2 separate regions of the Homo sapiens genome follow, and region 2 is linked to region 1. The links are contacts of gene promoters, found by promoter capture Hi-C in human tissues and cell types (Jung and others, 2019). All regions are on one chromosome and are shown on one strand. The core of a region is centred on a gene start or on the middle of the fragment in contact, and the rest is flanking DNA. Distances in the headings are between cores, read along the strand shown. Region 1 holds the start of POLG2 (DNA polymerase gamma 2, accessory subunit). Region 2 has its middle 27 kb from the start of MIR6080.

Evidence for each region. Contacts are between HindIII fragments. The study calls those that stand out against the background at their distance.
Region 2: a contact is called between a fragment that was not itself captured here and the fragment with the promoter of POLG2 in region 1, in 3 of the 25 tissues and cell types used here (H1 embryonic stem cells, hippocampus and lymphoblastoid cells).

The regions. Positions count from the first base shown.
Region 1 is chr17:64,493,890-64,499,497 of GRCh38, forward strand. POLG2 (DNA polymerase gamma 2, accessory subunit) reads right to left here and starts at 3,165. Exons shown (of 8, transcript NM_007215.4): 1 at 2,518-3,165. The coding sequence starts at 3,079. DDX5 (DEAD-box helicase 5) reads right to left here. Exons shown (of 13, transcript NM_004396.5): 13 at 4,365-5,608. It also overlaps a transcript of MILR1 not described here. RefSeq lists enhancers at 2,342-3,201, 2,853-2,922, 3,303-3,442. The HindIII fragment of the contact is 4,462 bases long and covers 1-4,425 here.
Region 2 is chr17:64,750,823-64,757,152 of GRCh38, forward strand. It overlaps the pseudogene ARHGAP27P1-BPTFP1-KPNA2P3, the pseudogene KPNA2P3 and the pseudogene LOC101929240. Among named protein-coding and RNA genes, the nearest start is that of MIR6080, 27 kb to the right of the region's middle. The HindIII fragment of the contact is 7,908 bases long and covers 1-6,330 here.

The sequences.
Region 1 (5,608 bases), core at 1,915-4,414:
ACATTTTTTTCTTGTTCACTCCCAAATACTGCCGCATACATCTTCTAAAAATAAAAATATTTCCTATATACCATTATAACACCATAAAAAGTTAACCATAATACCACAATATAATCTAACATATGGTGATATTTTAGTTGTTCCAATTTTCACCCCAAATATCTTTTACTGTTCTCTTTCCAGTTAAGATTCATGTACTGCATTCTGAGTAGGTTTCTTTCATCCATTTGAATCTAGAACATTTCCCTTGCCTCCTTTCCCCCTTAATTTTGCTATTAATGACACTGACTTTTGATGTGAGTCCAGGTTAGTCATAGATTGTCTCACATTTGGGATTTGTCTGATTGTTTCCTTATGATTTAATTTCGGCTAATCATTTTTAGCAAAATACTACATAGTAGATGTGTGTATCTTATTGCATCATAACATGAGGAACATGTTATCAAATTATTCCACTACTGAAGACACCAAATTTGATTACTTGGTTAAGGTAGTAAATATCCACTCCCCAATAATATCCTGCTCCCCAACAGTATTTCACCCAGTATTTTAGAATCCATTGATGACTGTTGCTTGAATCAATGATATCGGGGTTTGCAATATCATGAAATGGTGAATTTTCTAATGTATCTTTCCTTCTACATTTATTCCATAGCTTCTGTAAAAACATAAGCTTTCTCTACCTCTTCCCCCCGCCCCCGACCTCTAGGGTCAATTATTTGTTTTTGATTAATACTATTGACTCTTAGATTTTAGTCAATGTGTTATGATCCATTACCATTAATATGTATCTTAATGTTCAATTTGTCCTAGATGTGGCCAGTGACAACCCTCCTCAAGCCAGCATCTGTGACCTTTTTATATGACCCATTAGTCTTCAAGCAATTCTTTGCTTTTTAGCACCATAAAGTGTTTCAAACTCACCTTGTACTTTCCCTAACCCCAGACCCGGAATCAGCCATTTCTCCCAGTACTGGTTCATCTTAGAAACCAAGATCTGGAGGCCGGGCGCAGTGGCTCACGCCTGTAATCCCAGCACTTTGGGAGGCCGAGGCGGGCGGATCACAAGGTCAGGAGATAGAGACCATCCTGGCTAACAAGGTGAAACCCCGTCTCTACTAAAAATACAAAAAATTAGCCAGGCGTGGTGGCAAGTGCCTGTAGTCTAGTCCCAGCTACTCGGGAGGCTGAGGCAGGAGAATGGCGTGAACCTGGGAGATGGAGCTTGCAGTGAGCCGAGATTGTGCCACTGCACTCCAGCCTGGGCGGCAGAGCGAGACTCTGTCTCAAAAAAAAAAAAAAAAGGAACCAGGATCTGGGCACTAGGTGTGCTCATTGCTACTGAGGGTCATTGCTTCTAGGAACTTTAAACGAAGAAAGTTAGGAAATATATTTTTAAAAATCATGAGGCTGGGCACTGTGGCTCACACCTGTAATCCCAGCACTTTGGGGGGCCAAGATGGGCGGATTGCTTAAGCTCAGGAGTTCAAGACCAGCCTGGACAACATGGCAAAACCTCATCTCTACAAAAAACACAAAAATTAGCTGGGTGTGGTGGCATGTGCCTGTAGTCCAGCTACTTGGGAGGCTGAGGTGGGAGGTTCACTTGAGCCCGAGGTCGAGGCTGCAGTGAGCCATGATCACACCACTGCACTCGAGTCTGGGTGACAGAGTGAGACCCATATTCAATTTTAATTTACCAATTCATATTTAATTTACCAATCCATATTTAACATTAGTTTATACGTACCTTCTTTTACATATTATCTCTTCTTTTACAATGAATATCTTGGTTCCTAATAACAACTAACCCAACTATTTGAATTTTTTTTTTTTAAGACGGAGTTTTGCTCTTGTCACCCAAGCTGGAGTGCAGTGGCGTGATCTCGGCTCACTGCAACCTCTGCCTCCTGGGTTCAAGCGATTCTCCTGCCTCAGCCTCCCAAGTAGCTGGGATTACAGGCGCTCGCCGTCACGGCCGGCTAATTTTTGTCTTTTTAGTAGAGACGGGGTTTCACCATGTTGGCCAGGCTAGTCTCGAACTCCTGACCTCAGGTGATCCACCCGCCTCTGCCTTGCAAAATGCTGGGATTACAGGCGTGAGCCACTGCGCCTGGCCTTGATTTATCCTATGATATACATGAAATAGTTTCAGAATTATAATTTCAACATTTTTACTTAGAATAAATCTAAGAAAAGTTCAAAATGTCTGTGTAGTTCCTTATGCACTTAGACTACATTGCACTAAATGACAGCACTGTGTTCAGAAGTTGCCCCGTGAAATTGAGAGCGTTCCCAGGTCCTTCGGACAGATTGTTTAAGGAACAGCAATGATTCCATGGACCAGTTTTCTCCAGGGTAGAGCACTGTTAATATATCCGACTACTTCAAAAAGATGAGAACTAACTAACTTCCTTGCATGGGAATACAGGGCCAGTTGCAATCCCCAAGATCCAGCAAGACTGCCTCGCCTTTCCACCCGACACCTGTTTTGAAGCATGAAATCGTGAAGCATACCGTGAAGAAGGTTCTCCCGTAGTTTCCCAGAAGTTTTTAATACGTTCTCAAGAAATGCTACTAGCTGTTCCTTACTCAGCTCTTTGTCTTGCAAGATTTCGCGTAGAGTTTCTGCAGAAACTAACCTGAAGGCACTGTCCCCGGGTAGCAAAGGGCCTGGTTTGTGGTGGAGGGCGTCCACCGGGAATACCTGCTCCCTGAACACCACCACCGAGGTCCACCATTCTGCGGCCAGGTTCTTCCGCAACTCTACGCCCAAGGGTCCGAAGCCGGGGTGGCACCCACTCAGAAGAGAATCCCGGCTAAGCTGCTGCTTGCTTCCACTTAGGAAATGCCTTCTCTGACAGATCTCTAACAGCGCCTCGCTTCCCTCTCCAGACCCGGGGGCTTCTGGGTGCTCGCCGTTCCCCTCGAGCTCCGCGTGCGACTTCACATGCCCTCCTTTGGGGCTACTCCTTTCCGTCAACAGCTCCGGCTGCCCCGCATCTACTCGACCCCCAAACCCAGACAACAGGCACCTGCAGACCTTATGGCAGGCCCTGACGGCTACACGAGAGCGCATCTCTCTCCGAAGTTAAAGAGCACACTCTCCCATCACTCAACGGATCCCAACAAGCCACCACTACCGTTAACAGAATCCGGAGAGGCCACGGCGCAGGCGCAACGGAGGTGAGCGTGCTTGCGGGCGGCAGGCCCCACCCCGGAAGCGCATGTCTGCGTTCCGGCCGCAGCCGTCCCCCGCCCACCATGGCGGACGCCGGCTCGGATGGTTCTCTGCTAGCTTGCCGTTCGCGTCGCGCCCCTCCCTTCAGATTGACTTTTTTCTTTCCTCGTAAGCACCAGTAAAGGTTATTCCCACCTATTTATAACCGTGGTGTAGCCACTTGAGTCACTTCCTTCTGCCACTGTTTTGCAGTCCAGAAAATTAAAATACTTCAGTATTATCCAAATCACCTTCTATATACACCTCAATCAAGCACTTGGACTAAATTTGGCATTTGGTTTCCCTTTAAACAGTTTTAGTCCTTTACGGTGATTTGTAAGCCCAGGCCTTCTTAACTAGGCAAATGCTGCCGCCAGGTGGCCTAGGCCTAACCCCAGAGCCGTTGTCTTGACGCTTAAGCTTCCGGGGAGGGGGGCGATAGGCTTCGTGACTAGGGTAGTGGTATGGTCACTTTAAATATTGCAGTGGCTTCCAAAGGGCAGTCCCCAGCCAGCAGCATCTGCCTCACCTGGGAATGCACTAGAAATAAACCAAGGGGCCCTGACATGTCTTAAACCCTCCTGGTGTCAGAGAAAACCACGTACGTGCAATTTCTTCCAGGGGCCCCTTCTATGGGTTCATCAAAACAATGAGACTTGTGACTGTTATTATTAAGAGACTCATGATTAAATTGCAGGTTTCTGATTTTGCAGTTTCTATTTAAATAGGTCGAGACCTTAAGACCTACCCAGAAAGTGGAAAAGTGGTATACCCAGACTGAGGAAGTTTGATTCCAAAGTCCATGATTTCTTATACCAGCCTCAGTTACGAAAACCTTTAAAGAGGTTCAGGGAAAAAGGAACAATCTACATTTCACTGTGAGACTACCAAACTACTACCTGATTAAGAGGGGTAACAGCTTAGCAATTGAGTTAATGTAATTCAGGAGTAAAGTTTTATCATTAGTAAAGTGCTGTACCAGGTTCAGGAAATAGTTCTTCTTTACAAGTGTATACAAGGGTTTAAAAAAAGGCCAGCTAGATAGTAATTAACTGCAAAGCTGGGTACTACTGCCAGGTGTTTTCCACATTCAGGAACTCACACCAGGTAAAAGGCCTATACGCAAATAAATAAAAAGAGAGAATGGGGAGAAAAATCACATTTATTAGTTAAGACGACCACAGGCTGGACACAACACACATGCTAAAAAGTGGACTGTCTTTTAAAACTTCCAAGGTAAATAGGTAAATGTTTTCCACAGCCCAACAATCATTTCAGTGTTTACAAATTAAAAGGCCCACGGTTAAGACATTAAACAGTAAAATATGTAATAAATGCTCCAACCTACCCTCTCCCCCGAAAGCTGCTTCTAAGTTTAAAACCATGAATTTGACTAACCATGCCATTGAAAACCATCCAGGTTACTACAGGCTGAATTAGTTTTCAATGTCTAAGTCCTAGAAATATCACTCCCTATCCCAGCCCTAGCAAATTCTAACTTTACATTTGACATAAGGCATTAACATCAATTAAAGCCTCAGTTTAATAATCAGAATTTAAATGAAGTCTCCTGAAGACCTCTCTTCTGGCAAAAAAAAACACGTATCAGACTCTGGGAAAACATTCAGACCCACTTCTAGCTATTACTGAAATAAATGATTAGAAAGTTACGTTGGTGAGCCGAAGTTAAACCTAAAGCTATCCCCTGGATCTTTCTAGCAATAAACCCATGTTGAACCTACCATGAAAACTTTCATTCACTGTGCTTTTGGTTACGTTGCCTCCTGATTAGTCATTAATTTTAATGAGGTTTTTTCCTTGTGTTGAGTATGAATAGACCTTACAGTTTGAGGATCTCTAGAATTCCCTGAATTATTGGAAAGACATTCATGACTCCCAGTGTGACTAGTTAAGAGCCCCAGGGAGCCTGTGAAGACTAGAATCTACAAGTAACCTGCACTAAGAACGAAATTCAGTAAAGGAGACTCAAGCTTAGCTCCTGGCCATCTTAAAGGGCTAATGTATGTCTTTCACAGGTTTGTTCAACATTTCAGTAATTCACAGTATAGCCAAGAGCATGAGTATAAGTCTCTTGAAAAAGCCAGTTATTTGGAGCTTTTTAAATTATAAACTTTGAAAAAGTCACCCACGTTCTCACACTATATAGATGACTTTGTATCTATTTTACTATTTTCTCATTTAACCATACTAGCAAATAAGGAAAAAGGCTATTAAATGACTCCCCTGATGCTGGAAGCTGACAAAGCTTTTATGCAATTTAGCCTGTAACTAAAAATTCACCTGTATCAATTCATTCTGACTCCTGCAATATGAATAGCTCATTATAAAGAAGGGCCTTCTGATTCCCCCTGCCTCCCAAATTAAATA
Region 2 (6,330 bases), core at 2,678-5,177, 260 kb after region 1:
CAGACAAGGGAGTGAAGAGTGTTTTCGACATCATGGAGATGGAGGATGAAGAACGGAACACAATTCTTCAGCTGACTGACAGCCAGATTACAGATGTGGCTCGCTTTTGTAACTGCTACCCTAATATCGAACTATCTTAGGAGGTGGTGGATAAGGACAGCATCCGCAGTGGCGGGCCAGCGGTGGTGCTGGTGCAGCTGGAGCGAGAGGAGGAAGTCACAGGCCCTGTCATTGCGCCTCTCTTCCCGCAGAAACGTGAAGAGGGCTGGTGGGTGGTGATTGGAGACACCAAGTCCAATAGCCTCATCTCCATCAAGAGGCTGATCCTGCAGCAGAAGGCCAAGGTGAAGTTGGACTTTGTGGCTCCAGCCACTGGTGCCCACAACTACACTCTATACTTCATGAGTGATGCTTACATGGGATGTGACCAGGAGTACAAATTCAGCATGGATGTGAAAGAAGCCGAGACGGACAGTGATTCAGATTGAGTCCTGAGGCATTTACTCTTGGGTAAAGGAGAGTTGAGCCTGAATTAGGAATGTGTATATTGTAGGGATCCTGGTGGTTATGGGGACCACGTCTGTGGGCCTGAGGTCTGGCCAGCCAGGGCTGGTGCTGTCCCTGCCCACATCCACTTCCTTTTCCCTTGTTCACACTCTGGATCCAGTGACAGCAGGTGTCACGGGTCAAGCATAAATCATATATAGCATGTTCAGGCATGTTACTGGTAGTTCCTTTTGAGTCTGACATTCTAATAAAATAATTTGTAGAAACCAAAGCTAAATAAATAAATAAATAGATTTTATTACCATCAAGCCAAACATCAGAGGGGCAATAAGTACATTACGTCCTATGCACACTGATATTTTACTATATTTAACAAAGATATGAGGCTCATTTTTAAAAGTATGAGGGAAAAAAGGGCTCATGGCCTTGGCTTTACATTTTTCCAAGTTGTTATTAATATTACCATCCATTACTCACCTCTACAGAGAAATACTTCTCAGTTAAGCTTAATGAAGCCTTATATACAGACTCATTTTCATGGTTTTGTAGAGCTTCAATTTTGTCTACGCCTCCACATTCTTCAATCATTATACTAAGTTTCTCAGTTTCACCTAGTTTCTCAGCAGCCTAAAAAAAAAAAAAAAATCCAAGTTTACTGGCGTATACTCTGAATGTTTTAATGAAGAAAACATCGAAAATTTGAATATTGATATGTCAGGCAGAAATAAGCACCTTAACAGTTCCTTCATCAAGCCTATCATAGTTTTATGTCCATTCTATATTTTGTTGAAACTCAGTGTGATTGGATCTGTACCTACTCTTAGCAGTACTTCGACTGGAGCCAGAGATCTTACAATCAGTAGCTCTCAACCTTTTGTATGTATCAAAATCACATGGGCCACTTTTTTTTCTTTTTTTCTGTTTTCTTTTTTTTTTGAGATGGAGTCTCGCTCTGTTGCCCAGGCTGGAGTGCAATGGCGTGAAGTCGGCTCACTGCAAGCTCCGCCTCCCGGGTTCATGCCATTCTCCTGCCTCAGCCTCCCAAGTAGCTGGATCTATAGGCACGTGCCACCACGCCCGGCTAATTTTTTGTATTTTTAGTAGAGACGGGGTTTCACCGTGTTAGCCAGGATGGTCTCGATCTCCTGACCTCGTGATCCGCCTGCCTCAGCCTCCCAAAGTGCTGGGATTACAGGCATGAGCCACCGCGCCTGGCCAACGTGGGCAACTTTTAAAACAACACTACACTCCAGTTCAACTGGTCTGCTATGGGAACAGGGGCGTATTGTTTCGTAAAGCATCCTATATCATCACAAGGTGTAGTCAAGGTGTCTAAGGGCAAAGATGGCCTATGGAGTGCTAAACTAAATGTCTCCGAACAGAATGTGTGTTGGTATTAAGGATTTACGGGGCACATGGAATGGTATGTAGGTTAGTTTTTCTTTAAATTTTCAACTTTTAAGAGATACATAAATATCTATAGATGAAATAACAGATTTGCTTCAAAATAACTTAGGGGATTAGATGAAGGAAAGAAGAAATACTGGCCACATACTGACAAATTATTTATACACAGTGACAGATACACCAGCATCCATTATTGTAGGCTCAATTTTTTTTTTTTTTTTGAGACAGTTTCACTCTTGTCACCCAGGCTGGAGTGCAATGGCGTGATCTTGGCTCACTGCAACCTCCGCCTCCCAGGTTCAAGCAATTCTCCTGCCTCAGCCTCCTGAGTAGCTGGAATTACAGGCGCCTGCCACCACGCCCAGCTAATTTTTTTAATTTTTAGTAGAGACGGGGGTCTCATTATGTTGGCCAGGCTGGTCTTGAACTCCTGACCTCATGATCCACCCGCCTCGGCCTCCTCAAAGTGCTGGGATTACAGGCGTGAGCCAACATGCCCAGCCTGTAGGCTCAACTTCTATATGTAAAAATTTCTAGAATCCAAAGTTGATGAGAAGGGCTTACCTACCACCAATCACTACGGCAAAGTGCCATATGCTGGTATGCTTGGATCAGTTAGGGGTGGAACCAGAAGAAAAATATAATTAAGTCATTCAAAAAAAATTTTTTTTTGAGACAGAGTTTCACTCTTTCGCCCAGGCTGGAGTGAAGTGACGCAATCTTGGCTCACTGCAACCTCTGCCCCCCACCCAGAGTTCAAGCGATTCTCCTGCCTCAGCCTCCCAAGTAGCTGGGATTATAGGCGTCTGCCACCAGGCCTGGCTAATTTTTGTATTTTTAGTAGAGATAGGGTTTCACCATGTTGGCCAGGCTGGTCTCGAACTCCTGACCTCAGGTGGTCCACTCACCTCAGCCTCCCAAAGTGCTAGGATTACAGGCATGAGCCACTGTGCCCGGCCAAGTCATTCAAATTTAATGTCACCAAAATTCGGTATGAAATTGGGAAATTAAATCAACCAAGTAAACAGGTGTGATGAGTCCACATAAGCGCCTGACTCCGATTCAGTTCGCACCATCCACTTGTCATCTCTTTTATATCTTTTATAATGCCTGCCACATTTTTAATCAAAGGGGTGGCCACATAAACAGGCTTTCTGATTCTGTGGCTTACTAGTGAGTAAACTTACAGCTGCCCTCCCCCAAGTCTAAATAGTAAACCAATTATTATCAAGTCCAAATTCAAACAAAGCCACCTTGATAGGACTTACCTGAAAGATATTTGAAATGGCATCCAGGATAACCAGAATAATCTTGGTATCTTTTGCAGGTAAGAGGTTCATCAACGGTTCTATTATGCCACAGTGAACAAGGTACACAATCTGTTCAACTGTTCCACGGCCCATACAGCTTCCTTTTGTGTCTCAAAATCTGCCAATTAAACATAAGGAAATGGTTTTATTTCAGAACAGTTGCACAAATAAGATTCCAAGAGTACTTTTTCACAAAAACGGTGACTGAAAGTACCAAGGTTCTATTGATACAACCTTAAGTAAAGGGGTTACTGGGTATTGTTCAGCAAAGGACTCCTAGTAGAACCCAAGATTCTTGCACATGAAGAAGCTTATCAAGCACAGCTTTCTATAAATACTAAAAATGACTTGATTAAATCCTAAGACTTCGTTACCTTAGAGAGATCGCTGACAAGGAATGGGACTAATCCATGATTCACAACTTGCTGTATCTGGTCCTGGCGGCTGGCTGTGATGTTTGACATTGTCCACGTAGCTTCCTTCTGAATGTTAGTTTTGGGGTTGGTGAGCAGGCTGGGAAAGACGGCGAGTGCTCCTGCATCAATCACAACCTGAGTCTGTTCATCTGTACCAGTGACGATATTCCCTATGGCTCTTAGGGCAGGAGTCTGAAAAGGAAAAAATGTTGATGCTGGTTACCTTATATTTTTCTCAGCACTTCAGAAATTCTGTACTCCAAAAGTTTTAACAAGAGGCCCAACATGACCTGAAATAGGCAATATTTCAATATTGGTATCAACTGATTATGCTTTTTTTTTTGAGACAGGAGTCTTGCTCTTGTCACCCAGGCTGGAGTGCAATGGCGTGATCTTGGGTCACTGCAACCTCCGCCTCCCAGGTTCAAGCAATTCTCCTGCCTCGGCTTCCCGAGTAGCTGGGATTAAAGCGTGTGCCACCATGTCCGGCTAATTTCTTTGTATTTTTAGTAGAGATGGGTTTTCACATGTTGGCCAGGCTGGTCTCGAACTCCTTACCTCAGCTGATCCACCCGCCTCGGCCTCCCAAAGTGCTGGGATTACAGGCATGAGCTACTAAAAATTTAGACCTACATTTAATTTTGCCTGTTAAACATTCATTATTTTATATGTAGAACAGTTTCCAAACTCGATGTCAGGACTCACTGGAGTCTCAAGTTATGGAGTATCCAAGTGTTTCGTTGCTAAAAAAGGCAGCTTTGAATAATTTAAAAAATGAACTAGAAGGCCAGGCACAGTGGCTCACACCTGTAATCCTAGCACTTTGGGAGGCTCAGGAGGGAGGATGGGTTGAGCTCAGGAGTTCGAGACCAGTCTGAGCAACATAATGAGACCTCCCCTTCTACAAAAAATTAAAACAAAACAAAACAAAAATCCAGGCATGGTGGTGTGTGCCTATCACCATGCAAGACCTTCTCTCAAAAAAAAAAGAATCAGAGCAGACTGAAGATTATTCCTACATTAATCTCAATAACTTGCATTCAGATATACTTTGAGGGAGAAAGACATGAAGTTATAAGCAACATTCTGAGAATTTTGATATCTAATTTTATAATCTATATATTTCCATGGTTGAGTGTTGTTGCAAATATAAATGGGTTATGTGCGGCCAGGTGCAGTGGCTCACGCCTGTAATCCCAGCACTTTGGGAGGCCGAGGCGGTGGATCACCTGAGGTCAGACGTTCGAGACCAGACTGAGAAACATGGTGAAACCCCATCTCTACTAAAAATGCAAAAATTAGCCAGACGTGGTGGCGGGCCCCTGTAATCCCAGCTACTCGGGAGGATGTGGCAGGAGAATCGCTTGAATCCAGGAGGCAGAGGCTGCAGTGAGCCTAGATCGCACCACTGCACTCCAGCCTGGGCAAAAGAGCAAGACCTGTGCCCTGCCCCCCCAACAACAAAAAAATGTTTTATGTTGTGAATCAAAGTAGAAAGGAGGTTTGAGAGCCAATGCTACCCATAATTCAAAAAGCCAGTATCCCTGTCTCTCCAGGAGCTTGACACCTAACAGAAAATGTGACAAGTAGACAAACAGCATAAAACAAGTGGTAAATAGATGGGTTACATAGCATTTACTCCCAATTTTGGGTGCAGAATCAGGGCGCTAGAGAATCCTGAGAAAGGAGTGTCTTTCCTACGAGGCTAAGGAGTGCTATAAGAAGAAGATGAGCTTTGAGTATTAGTACCCTAGAAATAGAACACACGTAGTAGTCAATTGGAAAAAAAAAAAAGATAAATGTGGAGTGCTAAAGGGCTAAAGGAAGCATAACGTGGCTGGGTGCAGTGGCTCACACCTGTAATTGCAGCACTTTGGGAGGCCGAGGCGGGCAGATTACCTGACGTCAGGAGTTTGAAACCAGACTGGCCAACGTGGTGAAACCCTGTCTCTACTAAAAAAAAACAAAAATTAGTTGGGCGTGGTGGCGGCACCTGTAATCCCAGCTATTCGGGAGGTTGAGGCACGAGTATCACTTGAATCCAGGAGGCAGAGGTTACAGTGAGCCAAGATGGCGCCATTGCACTCCAGCCTTGGCAACAGCACGAGACTTTGTCTCAAAAAAAAAAAGGAAGCATATTGTGAGAAAAAGAAGTAGGAAAGTGCCCAGTTATCTTTGGAAGATGAAAGATAAATTTGAAAATCTAAGATAGGTCTACTTTGTGGAAGGCCTTCATGGAGTATGGATTATATTATTATTTTTTAGACAGAGTTTTGCACTTGTTGCCCAGGCTGGAGTGCAATGGTGCGATGGTGCGATCTTGGCTCACTGCAACCTCTGCCTCCCAGGTTCAAGCGATTCTCCTGCCTCAGCTTCCCAAGTAGCTGGGATTACAGGCACCCACCACCACCCCGAGCTAATTTTTTTTTATGTTTAGTAGAGACAGGTTTCACCATGTTGGCCAGGCTGGTCTCAAACTCCTGACCTCAGATTATCCACCCACCTCAGCCTCCCAAAGTGCTGGGATTACAGGCGCAAGCCACCGTGCCTGGCCAGAGTATGGATTTTTATTTTTAGAGACAGGGTCTTACTCTGTCATCCAGCATGGAGTGCAGTGGTACAATCATAGCTCACTGCAGCCTCAAAATCCTGGGCTCAAGTGATCCTTCTGCCTCAGCCTCCTGAATACC